5 separate regions of the Homo sapiens genome follow, and all the other regions are linked to region 4. The links are contacts of gene promoters, found by promoter capture Hi-C in blood cells and fetal thymus (Javierre and others, 2016). All regions are on one chromosome and are shown on one strand. The core of a region is centred on a gene start or on the middle of the fragment in contact, and the rest is flanking DNA. Distances in the headings are between cores, read along the strand shown. Region 1 overlaps SLC14A2 (solute carrier family 14 member 2). Region 2 overlaps SLC14A2 (solute carrier family 14 member 2). Region 3 holds the start of SLC14A2 (solute carrier family 14 member 2). Region 4 holds the start of EPG5 (ectopic P-granules 5 autophagy tethering factor). Region 5 overlaps SLC14A2 (solute carrier family 14 member 2).

The links. Contacts are between HindIII fragments. The CHiCAGO score rates a contact against its expected background, and 5 or more counts as called.
Region 1: a contact is called between a fragment that was not itself captured here and the fragment with the promoter of EPG5 in region 4, in 1 of 17 cell types (total CD4 T cells). The highest score is 5.0, in total CD4 T cells.
Region 2: a contact is called between a fragment that was not itself captured here and the fragment with the promoter of EPG5 in region 4, in 1 of 17 cell types (naive CD8 T cells). The highest score is 5.8, in naive CD8 T cells.
Region 3: a contact is called between the fragment with the promoter of SLC14A2 here and the fragment with the promoter of EPG5 in region 4, in 1 of 17 cell types (total CD4 T cells). The highest score is 5.5, in total CD4 T cells.
Region 5: a fragment that was not itself captured here is called in contact with the fragment with the promoter of EPG5 in region 4 in 15 of 17 cell types (activated CD4 T cells, non-activated CD4 T cells, naive CD8 T cells and 12 more); the score reaches 14.8 in activated CD4 T cells.

Annotation. Positions count from the first base shown.
Region 1 is chr18:45,650,571-45,653,270 of GRCh38, forward strand. The region is part of intron 10 of SLC14A2 (solute carrier family 14 member 2); the gene reads left to right. The region is part of intron 7 of LOC105372093 (a long non-coding RNA gene); the gene reads right to left. Among named protein-coding and RNA genes, the nearest start is that of SLC14A2, 36 kb to the left of the region's middle. The HindIII fragment of the contact is 3,101 bases long and covers 1-2,700 here.
Region 2 is chr18:45,631,737-45,634,445 of GRCh38, forward strand. It overlaps SLC14A2 (solute carrier family 14 member 2), which reads left to right. Exons shown (of 20, transcript NM_007163.4): 5 at 614-742. All of the region lies in intron 8 of LOC105372093 (a long non-coding RNA gene), which reads right to left. Among named protein-coding and RNA genes, the nearest start is that of SLC14A2, 18 kb to the left of the region's middle. The HindIII fragment of the contact is 4,158 bases long and covers 1-2,709 here.
Region 3 is chr18:45,614,195-45,616,894 of GRCh38, forward strand. It overlaps SLC14A2 (solute carrier family 14 member 2), which reads left to right and starts at 1,282. Exons shown (of 20, transcript NM_007163.4): 1 at 1,282-1,388. All of the region lies in intron 8 of LOC105372093 (a long non-coding RNA gene), which reads right to left. The HindIII fragment of the contact is 14,354 bases long and covers 1-2,700 here.
Region 4 is chr18:45,965,927-45,968,626 of GRCh38, forward strand. It overlaps EPG5 (ectopic P-granules 5 autophagy tethering factor), which reads right to left and starts at 1,403. Exons shown (of 44, transcript NM_020964.3): 1 at 1,251-1,403. The coding sequence starts at 1,313. RefSeq lists an enhancer at 1,162-1,663. The HindIII fragment of the contact is 12,390 bases long and covers 1-2,700 here.
Region 5 is chr18:45,675,790-45,678,489 of GRCh38, forward strand. The region is part of intron 18 of SLC14A2 (solute carrier family 14 member 2); the gene reads left to right. The region is part of intron 7 of LOC105372093 (a long non-coding RNA gene); the gene reads right to left. Among named protein-coding and RNA genes, the nearest start is that of SLC14A1, 47 kb to the right of the region's middle. The HindIII fragment of the contact is 2,682 bases long and covers 83-2,700 here.

The DNA of each region.
Region 1 (2,700 bases), core at 123-2,622, 320 kb before region 4:
TTGACAACAAACCAGGAAAGAATCAGACCAGCTCCTGCCTTCAAGGAATTCATTTTATGGGAATTTACCTGGCCAGGTGAATAGTCTCACCTGAGGTGAAGATGAGGATGCGGACTGCCTGAGCCCACTGAAATTCACAGCACCACAGGTGTTTTGGGTTTTTTTGTCTTGTTTTGTTTTGTTTTTGAGACGGAGTTTTGTTCTTGTTGCCCAGGCTGGAGTGCAATGGCACGATCTCGGCTCACTGAAACCTCCACCTCCCAGGTTCAAGCGATTCTCCTGCCTCAGCCTCTTGAGTAGCTGGCATTACAGGCACCCACCACCATGCCCAGCTTTTTTTTTATTTTTAGCAAAGATGGGGTTTCACCATGTTGGCCGGGCTGGTCTTGAGCTCCTGACCTTGTCAGGCTGATCTTCTGTTTAAAAAGTGTTTTAGGCATGATTTTAAGGGTTCCAGGAAGATTTCAGTGCCTTGTCCCCTTGTATCCCCTATCTTTCCATTACCTGCAGCCCAAGCATTCCCAGCCATTCCTTCAACTTAAGGCTTTGAATCTGTTCAACTGTAAACAGTCCTGAGAAGGTACCACAGTAAACATGATCAATCATTTGTATCTTAGGCCAAAGGAGCCATTTCTGAGAACAGTTCTGATGAAAGGGGAAGAAAGAGTACAAAGAAAAATGGGTGGCACATTTCGAGAGGGTCTTTGGCAAAGGAGGGCATGCCAAGATGAGGCCAAGCTGGATGGATGAGGGTCTGGAGCACCATCATCTCACAGGGGATGATGAAGCTGGTTGTGTTTGGCTTGGAGAAGAGATGAAAGAGCTGCAGCCGTGTGTGTCTGCAGTATTAGGTAATGCATGTGGGAGAAGTCAACTTGTTCAGTGTTTCTCCAGAGCACAGAGGGAGTGCACTAGGTACGAGTGATAAGCAAATGGACTTTGAATCAGTGGAGAAAGGCACTTTTTAACAATGGAAGTTGCTTGAGAGATAATGTCCTATAAGGTCCTAAGATTTCTGCCCTGATAGTGCAGGAGCAGGGTGTGGAGGCCGGTTGGAGATGCTTGTTTGGGGTGGGTAACCAGACCGGATTACCACTGCGGCCTCTCTTTTCCAATTCCCAACGTTCTGTGATTCTATGGCCCTGAGTTCCCATGGAGGAATAAAGAGGAGTTATCGCCGAGGTGGTAAAAAGGTAAGAACATGAAGACCATGTGTACCAAAAATATGCCACAAGTGCCTTTGCTACTTTTCTAGAGCTTAACCAGTTAGCCATTTGGCCACTTTACCAAAATGCTCAACATGGTTGCTTACATGGACAAAAGCTGGGGACCAACATTATTCAACTCTCCTTGGCATTGACTTTCTCCTTCCCATCACTCTCCTCTCTGAAGGGACTCTCTTTCTGGTCAACCCTCTAAGATCTGCCTGTCAGGAAACTGTCTTCGCAGCCTGAGTTTGTGGTTATATCAGACCAGTGTGCAAACATCGTGGAACATTTGTTTATGCTTTCCTGTATGAGCCTAAACTTTGTTTTCTTGGGTCATAAAGGTTTTGATGGCCTGAGGACAGCTCTAATCTAAAACCAGGTGGGGGCTGGCAGTTTCAGTATGGGCATGATTTCTACTCAATAAACCATGGTCTCATCTGGTAACTTTAAAGGCATTCACATTTTATGTGAGACTTTTTTTACTTGCCTGGTTTTTCCTGTCTCTAGCCATTCAGAGAAGATGAAAGAATACACAGGGAGCCCTTCTACCCCAAGTGGAACTAGAAATTCCAAGACCCCAAGAAGGGGGCAAGGGGGAAAATGACAAGTCCTTTTTAACCCTCTGCAAATTGATAACAAGGACCTCCCAACCCCCTTCTACCGCTGCACAGGCTGCTAGAGCAGAATGAAGCAAAGTAAGCAGCCCTTTGGAGAACTTCCAGCTCCAGCTTGCATTTATTCCACATGGACTTGGGCCCTTTCCCTTGGAGGATCTGACCTTCCCAAGTTTAGCTCCTGGTGGTCAATGCAGGCCTCCTCCCTCTGTAAAGTTGAAAACGTAGAATTGAAGGAAGCCACGAGCATTGTGAAGAAAACCTTGTTCTGAAGCGAATTTCAATTGAGCCTTCAAATAAAGAGTGTAGGCACAAATTGATCTCTTGAAGAGCCCTTGGTATCTGAGCTCTAGCCTTTATCTAGCTCTAGTCAAGGGGACAAGATTATATCTTGGCCTTCTGCTTTCCAAGGCAGCACTTTATTGCCCCACCCTGAGTCTAGTGTTTGTGACAGATACTCACTACATCTTGAAGAACCACAGTTCCATTTGGCTAATGGAATGTGTATGAACTTCCTGAAAGCCTTCTTAAGCAGTCATTTCCTGTCTTTTCAAATTAATGACATATTGCTCACAGGTGGCTCCCTGTTATGTCTGGAATAGGTGGATGCTTAGGTAGCTGGAGTGAGCGCATCTCAAGAAGTTCAGGAGCCCTTGGGAGAAGCCAGGGCAAGAGAACAAGGGACAGCAGCAAGGACTGAGCCAACAGACCAGCCAGCAGGGACAAGAAAAACGTGAAGGCTCCGTGTTAACCAGCAGATAGCCATGGATCCTGAACTAGCAACACAAGGACAGGCCTCCATGCAGGCGACCGACCTCCCCTCCACACCATTCCCCACCACTCCTTGGAATGTGGGGGCCTGCTGGGCTCCTCCCACC
Region 2 (2,709 bases), core at 199-2,698, 330 kb before region 4:
TTAGCCTTCCAAGTAGCTGGGACTACAGGCATGCACTATCACGCCTGGCTAATTTTTGTATTTTAGCAGAGATGGGGTTTCACCATGTTGCCCAGGCTGGTTGAACTCCTGGGTGCAAGTCATCTTCCCACCTTGGACTCCCAAAGTGCAGGGATTACAGGCATGAGCCACTGAGCCTGGCCAACTACAGAGAACTTTACACAATGTAATCATAACACTCTTTCTCCTTCCCTCTCTTCTCTCTCCCTCACTCCCACACACAACTTCCTTGTGTCACACCTCAGGTTTCTATTATATTCCCTCTATATTTAGCAGTCTAAGTCTCCCCTGATAAAGAAGAGCTTAACCACAGACAAAGTGCATAATTTTAATTGTCGATCAGCAAGACAAGGGTGTGTGTGTGTGTGTTTGTGTGTGTGTGTGTGTGTGTGTGTTATCAGGAAAGGTGCTGGCAGCTATGTGACTGCCCAATATTCATTGAGCGAACTGACTTTTTTCTAAGCATTATTATTAAAGGAATCATCTAAATTAAGCATATCCTCAGAGCACCAGGAGGGAGGGGCCCAGTAACACCACCAACTTCAAATGCAAAATCAGTCTGTTTCACCGCCAGGTCTGCCATTGCCTCAGGACTCCATGGGTACAACGGGATGCTGGTGGGACTGCTGATGGCCGTGTTCTCGGAGAAGTTAGACTACTACTGGTGGCTTCTGTTTCCTGTGACCTTCACAGCCATGTCCTGGTGAGGCACCTCATTTTTTCTGCTCACAGCTCCATGGGGCCCCCAAGACACTTGTGTCTTATACTGGCCAGAGACAGGACATACACATGTGGGACCCAGCCCCTTCATAGCCAAGTTAGCTTGTCTGACACCATGAAAGCCCATGAGTTCTCTTGTAACACAAGGGGGTCATTTGGAGATATGGAATAAGGAGGATTCTTTTGTTTTTTGTTTGTTTGACACAGAGTCTTGCTCTGTCGTCCAGGCTGGAGTGCAGTGGCGCAATCTCGGCTCACTGCAAGCTCCACCTCCTGGGTTCACACCATTCTCCTGCCTCAGCCACACAAGTAGCTGGGACTACAGGCACCCGCCACCACGCCCAGCTAATTTTTTGTATTTTTAGTAGAGACAGGGTTTCACTGTGTTAGCCAGGATGGTCTCGATCTCCTGACCTCGTGATCCACCTGCCTCGGCCTCCCAAAGTGCTGGGATTACAGGCGTGAGCCACCATGCCCAGCCAGGAGGATTCTTTAAACCAACAAAAGACAACATTTTTTTTATTGCAATGGTAATCTTCCTGAACGACATTCTTAGTAATAAAAGTCAGCATTTCCTAAGTTATTCCTACATGCTTGACACAGTGCTAAGCAGGGCTTATGCAGTGCTAAGTATGGCTACATTTGCCATCAGTTTATGGAAGGGAAGACCAAGGCATGCAGAGATTAAGTCACTTGCCCCAAGTTGTACTTTGTGGTAGTTTTTGATGCTGGCATTCCAAATCCAATCTGCACTATTAAACCCCAGGTTGCATGGGAATTGTCTATTATGTGACGTAACCAAGACCTAAAAGCTGAAAACCTGCTTGTGATAGAAGCAGAGAGCTTTCTTGGAACAGAATATTTATATGTAAAGCATAGAACCTTTGAACTGGAAGTATCGGTTGAGATCTTGCTGGGCAATCACCTCATATTCTAGATGAAATAAGAAGGTCACCATGAAAGGGAGTTAGGAACAAATATTCACCTAGCGAAGGGTGTGCTGGGCCATTCACACAATGATTCTTAGTTCACGTAAATTTACAGCAGGTCTATCAAGCATCTTGGGGTCTCTGCAGTGTGCTCACTGTCATGGTGAACCTTTGTCCCCCAGACCCTGACTTCACATGTGTATACCACCCTGTTCTCAACTTCCCTCAAACAGTGTGATTTATTCTTATTGTCAGCAATAAATCAGACAGGATGATTTACTTTTAACATCTCTAAGAAGTAAATGTCTTTCCTTGGTTTCAAAGTCTGCAGTTACTAAAACCAGCTAGTTTAATTTAGCTTAACTACTCTTTTATTACTTTTTAGTAGTGCTTGCAAATAAATTACTACATTAAGGATTCTGGGCAATTTAGTTTTCCTCTTAGGGTTTCGTTCTTAATCCATTGGGACAAAAAGCCAAGACAGTCATTTCTATGTGGATTTTCTTAATGCCCCCCACGTTCCTGCCTGTGAAAAGGAGAACTTGCCCTCATTTGCAATACATTTGGTTTAAAACTACATAGATTAAGCCCCTCAACACAGCTCCTCAACCACATTGCACTGGCTGGCAATTAGACTTCAGTGCCCCCCATCCCACTTCCCAATTTAAAGGACAAAAAAACACTGAGCACCCCACCCTGGGCTCTGTGCTACTACTCCAGTGCATTCATCAATCCATTTATGGGGACCCTGAAATTCAAGTCATAGGGTAGGTATTTGTAGTGCCATTTTCCAGATTCATTCAATAAACAAATATCTGTTGAGTGCCTGAACTATTTGTTGAGTGAAAGGTTGACCCTAGATGCTGGGAATATTTGTAAACAAGGAAAAGTCTCTATTCCCTTGGAACTGACATTCTTCTTGGCTAAGACAGAAATAAACTCATAAACTAGTTAATAAAAGGGATCATTTCAAGATGTGATAAGTGCTTTGAGGAAAGCAAGAGAGGCTAAATGGGACAGC
Region 3 (2,700 bases), core at 32-2,531, 350 kb before region 4:
TCCATGTGGTGTTGAGCCTGCAGGTGCACAGAAGTCAAGAATTGAGGTTTGGGAACCTCCACTTAGATTTCAGAGGATGTATGAAACGCCAGGATGTCCAGGCAAAAGTTTGCTGCAGGGGTAGAGACCTCATAGAGAACCTCTGCTAGGGCAGTGCAGAAGGGAAATGTGAAGTTGGAGCCCCCACACAGAGTCCCCACTGGAGGACTGCCTAGTGGAGCTGTGAGAAGAGGACCACCGTACTCCAGACCCCAGAATGGTAAATCCACTGTCAGCTTGCACTCTGCACCTGGAAGAGCCACAGACACTCAACACCAGCCTGCGAAAGCAGCAGGAGGAGAGCTATACCCTGCAAAGCCACAGAAGCAGAGCTGCCTGAGTCTGTGGGAGCCCACCTCTTGCATCAGCATGACCTGGATATGAGACATGGAGTCAAAGGAGATTATTTTTGAGATTTAAGATTTAATGACTGCACCACTGGATTTTGGACTTGCGTGGGGCCTGTAGCCCTTTGTTTTGGCCAATTTCTCCCATTTGAAATGGGAGCATTTATCCAATGCCTCCTGCACCCCCACTGTATCTTGGAAGTAACTAACTTGCTTTTTTTTTTTTTTTTTTTTTTGAGACACAGTTTGCTCTGTCACCCAGGCTGGAGTACATTGGCACTATCTTGGCTCACTGCAACCTCCACCTCCCAGGTTCAAGAGATTCTTCTGTCTCAGCCTCCCAGTAGCTAGGACTACAAGTGTGTGCCACCACACCCTGCTAATTTTTGTATTTTTAGTAGAGACAGGGTTTCACCACATTGGCCAGGCTGGTCTCGAACTTCTGACGTCAAGTGATCCACCCGACTCGGCCTCTCAAAGTGCTGGGATTACAGGCGTGGGCCGCCGCACCCGGCCATTTGCTTTTGATTTTACTGGCTCATAGGTGGAAGGGACTTGCCTTGCCTCAGATGAAACTTTGGACTTTGACTTTCAAGTTAATACTGGAATAAGTTAAGACTTTGGGGGACTGTTGCTAAGGCACAATTTTGTTTTGAAATGTATAAAGAACATAATATCTGGGAGGGGCCAGGGGCAGAATGATATGGTTTGGCTCTGTGTCCACACCTGAATATCATCTCAAATTGTAATCCCAGTAATCCCCATATGTTGAGGGCAGGACCCAGGGCAAGGTGACTGGATCATGGGAGCGGTTTCCCCCATGCTGTTCTCGTGATAGTGAGTGAATTCTCACAAGATCTGATGGTTTTATAAGTGTTTGGCAAGTTCCTGCTCCACACCATCTCTCTCTTCTGCCGCCATTTGAGAAGGTCCAAGTTTGCTTCCCCTTCGCCTTCCACCATGACTGTAAGTTTCCTGAGGCCTCCCCAGCAATGTGGAAGTGTGAGTCAATTAAATTTCTTTTTTTTTTTTTTCTAATAAATCACCCACTCTCAGGTAGTTCTTTATAGCAGTATGAGAATGGACTATTGCAGTGGGGGAGCCAGGATTTGAATCCAGGTATTCTGTCTCCACTGTGCCACCACTGTCTAATAACACTAAAATTAACTACCTAGAGCCACCTCGGGGCAGCTTGTGTATATAAGTATGTGTGCATGTGTGTATGTGTAGGGGTGTATGTGTGTGTGTGTGTGTGTGAGAGAGAGAGAGAGAGAGAGAGGGAGAGAGAGAGACTACTACATTGTGAAATAGTCCACCACACAAGCCAGAGCAGAGGTCACCATGCTCCTAAGAGGCCAGGAAGGCACCATGGCCATGTTAGGGGTGGGTGTGTGAGCAGGATGTGTGTGAGTAAAGGAGATCAATATTCGTGCATGTGGAACTGAATTGGAGGTAGCTGTGGGACCTCAGGAGGCCACCTGCCCAGAACAGTGGCACACACTGCAGAGAAGCTGAAAATTGTCTTGGGCACAAGTGGAGCACCCCTGGGTAGAACCGAGGGAGATTGAGAACAGTTGCTATCTTCAGAGCTTTTTAACTTCTCCCCCTAAGTAGCCTCAACTGATGGGAGAATTGACACATTACCCCTACGTAATAGGTGGGCACAGCCTGAAGCAGCCACCTGCAGACTCTACATTTCTTCCCTTTATATTTTATTTTAATAATATAAAGAGTTGCATTTGACTATTTTATAAACCATGTTTGCTTAAATATACAACTATTATTCTATATTAGTTCATATCAAGCTCAATCAGCATTCCAGAAAACTGTGCTTCTCAGTGCCCTGGGCATTGACTACTCTGGCTCAGAGTTTCATGCCCAGTTTCAGGAGCGAAGCACTCAGACATGGAGCACCTCAGAAGGTTTTTGAGCAGTGGCACGACCAAGTCATGTTTTAAGATAATTTACCCATCACCAGTGGCAAGGTGGAGAAAAACTGGGGAGACTGAAGTGAGGGAAATCAGCTAGAAGGTGACCTGCGTTGGGGAGGGCCTGGCTTAAAGGGAGATAATGGGCTGATCCAGACTGAGGGCTCTGAAGGAGAACTCGATGGCTGAATAATTGCAACTGATGGAATGCAAGAGGCAATAAATAAATTGCCATTTATTCATGGGATGAGAGGGCTCAATATGTGGAACATTGAAGGGTCACCCCACTTTAGAAGTGTCACATAAGGACCGGGTGCAGTGGCTCACACCTGTAATCCTAGCACTTTGAAAGACCAAGGTGGGCGGATTGCCTGAGCTCAGGAGTC
Region 4 (2,700 bases), core at 153-2,652:
CCTGTAATCCCAGTTACTCGGGAGGCTGAGGCAGGAGAGTCGCTTGAACCCGGGAGGCGGAGGTTGCGGTGAGCCGAGATTGCACTCCGCCGAGATTGCACTCCAGCCTGGACGACAGAGCGAGACTCCATATCAAAACAAAAACAAAAACAAAACAAAACATAGGCTGGGCGCGGTGGCTCACGCCTGTAATCTCAGCACTTTGGGAGGCCGAGGCGGGCGGATCACGAGGTCAGGAGATCGAGACCATCCTGGCTAACACGGTGAAACCCCGTCTCTACTAAAAATACAAAAAATTAGCCGGGCGTGGTGGCAGGCGCCTGTAGTCCCAGCTACTCGGGAGGGAGGCTGAGGCAGGAGAATGGCGTGAACCTGGGAGGCGGAGCTTGCAGTGAGCCGAGATCGCGCCACTGCACTCCGGCCTGGGCGACAGAGCAAGACTCTGTCTCAAAAAAAAAAAAAAAAATACATATACATATATATACACACACACATATGTATATATGTACGTATATATGTATATATGTGTACATATGTATATATGTGTATATATGTACTATAATAAAATGAAAATCCAGACTGCACTTATAAACAAATCAACTTAAAATCACTCTAATACCACATGTAGTCTAATACAGGAAACTCAGAAAATTCAAACACTTCCCTACTGTGTGAGTCCCGCCCTGGGTTAATTTCTAGCCATTCATGCCCCTTATAAACAATCAAGACAATAAGAAATAAACAGAGGCAGCACTACTATCATCTTGAACTTTCAAAGTGATCAGAAATGGCACAGCACTAGTCTACTTATAAAGTTCTGCCAAAGGTACCTTCTCCGCGTGGAGGAGGGGAACATTCCCTCTTTATGCATGGCAGGGACTAAAAATGTTCTAGGATATAAAAGAGTAAAGAGAGAGTCAACGATGGGGCTGGAAAGAGAAAAATTATTTCACGGCAGGAAACCAGACCCAGGTGAGGAAAGCCAAGAGAGCAGAAAAGGAAGAGGCCAGTGAAGTCACAGGAGGGAGAAGGAAAAATGGGGTCCTGACAGAGTGTGGCAGGGGGATATGGAGAAGGAATGGAGGAGAAGGGCCGGTGTCAACGGGTGGTGGGATCAAATATTGGAAGGTGGAGGCGGAAGATGCAGAGGGCTCAGGGAACGGGAGTAGAATTGGCTGGGGAGGCCGAAGAGAGGAGCAAGGAGACACAGCACACTGCCAGAGCCTCGGGAGGGTGGGGGAGATCCTCACCTTTGTTTTAGTCCGGCTGGCCTTGGCCTTGGCCCGGCGCTGGGGCTTCACCGCCTCGGCCATAGACCCTTCCGCGGCGCCGTCACCGTTTGTTTTTGTCAAACCCCTGCGCTTCAAGCAACCTGCCCGGTTCTGGCCTCCGGACTGTCACATGATCGAATCTCCGCCACTCCCGGAGAAGAGGCGGTGAGTCGGCGCCTCTACGGGCCGCAACGTAGGACAAACCACTCCAGGACGCATTTGCACTGGAGGAAGGCAGGCCCGCCCCCTTCCCGGAGCCCAGGCCCCACCCCTAGCCCTGGCTCCACCCGGCGCGCAGGTGTCTTGGGTTGCGCTGGACAAGGGCAGCGACCCAGGCTGACCCACCTCCTCCGTCTCCCGGCTCTGCGGAACCTCACTCAGTGCGGATCCCGGGCGCGCTCGCACACCTCACCCGCGTCGGCTTGAAGAAATCCGGAAAGTGGGTTTGCCATTCTTTTTTTTCATCTTCAGATAAACCAGATCCAGTCGGTTAGCCTAAATCCGCACTGCGCGCAAGGAAGAAACCCTGACGCCCATCGGGGTGTGCACTTCGGCGTCCTCTTTTGTAAAGGGGAATGATCACACCTGCCTTTTCGGATGTCATGAGAATTTAATGGGCTCTCCCAGAAAGGTGCCTGGTAGCGGCAGGCATGTCGGTACATGGTAGTTATTAATTATCATTACTGTACAAATTCCCAGACTGGAAAAAAGACATGTGCTCCTAAAAGGACAGGCAAACAGGTAACAAGATAAATAAGATCCGTAAAAGTATTCTTAGTATACATTTTACAGTGTGCTTCATTTGAAATTTCCAGATGTGAAAAACTTGTCCACATCTTCCCTTCCCAGCTCTAGGATTTCTGTGATTTGCTTGTATCCTTATTGTTAGTGTCTGTCAATCCTCCCAGAATGTAAGATCCTCAAAGGCAGGGTTCTTAATTTTGTTGCCTGATGTATCCAAGGGTCTTTAGAACACTGCACGTAGTAGCACATAGTAGATACTAAATAAATATTTCGTGAATCACACAAATGAGTATGAGTTTTGTCTGGCGGTGGGGTAAGATCGTTGAAATGGAGTGGGCCAGGCGCAGTGGCTCACGCCTGTAATCCCAGCACTCTGGGAGGCCGAGGCGGGTGGATCACCTGAGGTCAGGAGTTCAAGACCAGCCTGGGCAACATGGTGAAACCCCAACTCTACTAAAAATACAAAAAAGTCGCCGGGCATGGTGGTGGACGCCTGTAATTCCAGCTACTCGGGAGGCTGAGGCAGGAGAATTGAACCTGGGAGGCGGAGGTTGCAGTGAGCCGAGATCGCACCATTGCCCTCCAGCCTGGGCAACAAGAGCGAAACTCCCATCTCAAAAAAAAGAAAAGAAAAGAAAAAGAAGAAAAGGAAATGGAGTGTATGGGAGGGAGGAAAAAGACCATC
Region 5 (2,700 bases), core at 174-2,673, 290 kb before region 4:
TCAGCCTCACAAACAAATGTTTGTACAGGTTCAATGAAAAGAAGAAGTTGAGGCCATCTAGAAAACCTGGAACACGTAGTCAAGCTTACTTGTGCGTAGGGCCCATTGATAGGCAACCAGGAGGCAGTGAGAGCAGGAGGGAATGATAGCTCCTTCAGCAGACAGAACAGCCCCACTGGAATTAAATGTCACTGTGAATATTTTAATTTAAATTAACTTTAACTTCTTAATAGGCCAGCATTTTTACATGACCTGAAACTAGACCTATGCCTAAGTTCCTTCCTTCCATAAAAATGTCCCAATGGCAAAAATTCTAAATGCTCAGAGATCTTTAAAATCAGTCGTCATTTATATTATTAAATTGGTTTGGGCCTCATCCCATTAAAAATTAAAAGTCTGAATGCTAGAAATGAGAAGTCAAGGAGTCCTGAAGTTTTTAAAGATTCAGAGTCAAGACTGTGCCACTCTAGGCTCTCTTAGTGGCCCATGACTTCCACATAGGATCGGAGCAGGTGGCCCGGTGGGGAGGTGGCTGCGTCCAGACCGTGGAGCTATAACTTCTGTCCAGAGTCTCAGAGGACAAGGACATCTAGGATACCAGCTGGGAAAGGACATTACAGGATATCCCTGGCTACCAACTCCAAGTTCTACTTATTCACTAAGGGATATTCATGTTTAACAAACAAATCTTAAATGCCCAATTTATGTCAGATGTTACACGGGTGGTTTTCAACCAGGGGTAATTTTCCCCTTCCCCAGGAACATTTGGCAATGTCTGATGACATTTTTCTGTGTCATACCTGAGGCTGGGGGAAGTGCTACTGGCATCTAATGGGTAAAATCCAGAGACGCTGTTAAACACCCTACAATACACAGGACGGCACCCCCAGAATAAGGAATTGCCCCATCCAAAGTGTCCATGGAGCTGGAGCTGTGAAACCTTGGTACAGGTCATCTCATTTAATCTTCCCTCCAGCCCCATAAAGTGTGTGGATGATATTAATATCCCCATTTCACAGATGGAGAAATGAGGCTAAAGGAAGCTAAATACATTACTTGAAGTCAGGTCTGCCTGACTGTAAAAGGCTGTGCTCTTTGCAGGACACCACACTGTTTCCTGAAGCCAGTGCTTTTTCTACCAGTAAAAAAATCCAAGCCCAGAACAGTTAGGCCCTTTTCCAACATCATACAGTCAGTGATGGATAAGACAGGCCAGGTGGCCAGGCATCCTGTTGCAAAGGTTCCTTCCACCACTGCCTGCTCGGCACATCACCTGAGACAGACAGTTTTCCCTCCAGCCCAGGCAGGCCGCATGTCTCATTTCGTCTTCTTTCTTCTATCCTTCCTCCTCTCTCCCGACTCTGCAAGCCCTATAGCCACACAGGAGCCCACACGGGGTTTTCGGAGGGTTTTCCTGCTAGTAATAACACCAGATTTGATAAAATAGCAAATATCAGTGGGGGAAGAGGGAGACAGAATGAATCCTTTGGCTCTGGGTCCCAGGGAAGATGGATGGAGTTGGAGTCTTCCATTCTTCACAGACCAAGCCCAGAGTCCCACTCAGGCCATCTGGCTCCCCTCTATTCGGGGGCCTTGGTAGTGCTTGGTTTGCCTCTCTCTTTCCAACCTCAGATCTGAGAGGCTGATTAAGAGCCCACTCCCAGAGCCAGATGGCTGGAGCTCCGCCACTTGTTAGCCATGTAATCCTGGGCAAGTTGCTTGAACTCTCCATGCCTGATACTAACAGTGCCCAACTCCTACAGCTGTTGTCAGGATCAAATTAGATCATTTGTGAAAATGATGAGAATAATGCTGACACATAGGGAATGTCCAGTAAGTGCTGACCTCTATTATCTCTAGTTAAATGATGTATGTTAATTAATGAGGATTCAGCAAACACAAAGGACGGCATGGGCTCCTATTCGCTCTCAGAGAATAAGCTGCCTGGTGTGACCCATGAAACCCATTGACAGCCCCACATTCTACTTCATGTAACTCATTTAACTCATTCTCTTTTGTTTGTTTGTTTGTTGTTTGTTTTTTGAGATGAGGTCTTGCTCTGTCACCCAGGCTAGATCACAGTAAGTAGCATGATCATAGTTCATTGCAGCCTCAAACTTCCGGGCTCAAGCCATCCTCCTGCCTCAGCCTCCCAAGTAGCTGAGATTACAGGCACATGCCACCACACCCAGCTAATGTTTTTGGTTTCTGTAGAGATGGTATCTTGCTTTGTTGCCCAGACTGGTCTCAAACTCCTGGGCTCAAGTGATCCTCCCATCTCAGCCTCCCAAAGTGCTGGGATTACAGACGTGAGCCGCCACTCCCAGTCGTGTAACTCATTCTTTAATCTCATCTACTCTTCCACCTTGAATCTCCCCTCCAAAACAAAAGGGGCTTCTCCAACTGAAATATAGGCTGAACAGTCATATTATTTCACCTCTCTGAGCCTCAGTTTTCTCATGTGTGAAATGAAGACGATAATAGTGCTTACACTGTAGGAATGCTGAAAGCTATGGTAGTATTGCTACTAGCTGGGCACACAATAACACACTAATAAAGGTTAACTCTTGTTAATATAATCCTAAGGACAATTGGGATGCTCTCAGCGAGAAATGAAGGGTTTGGAAGCAAAGGCCAATTACACTAGTACATTTTAATAGCTTCTCCCCTGTTGCCAGCACTGGGCTCATTCCCAGTGGC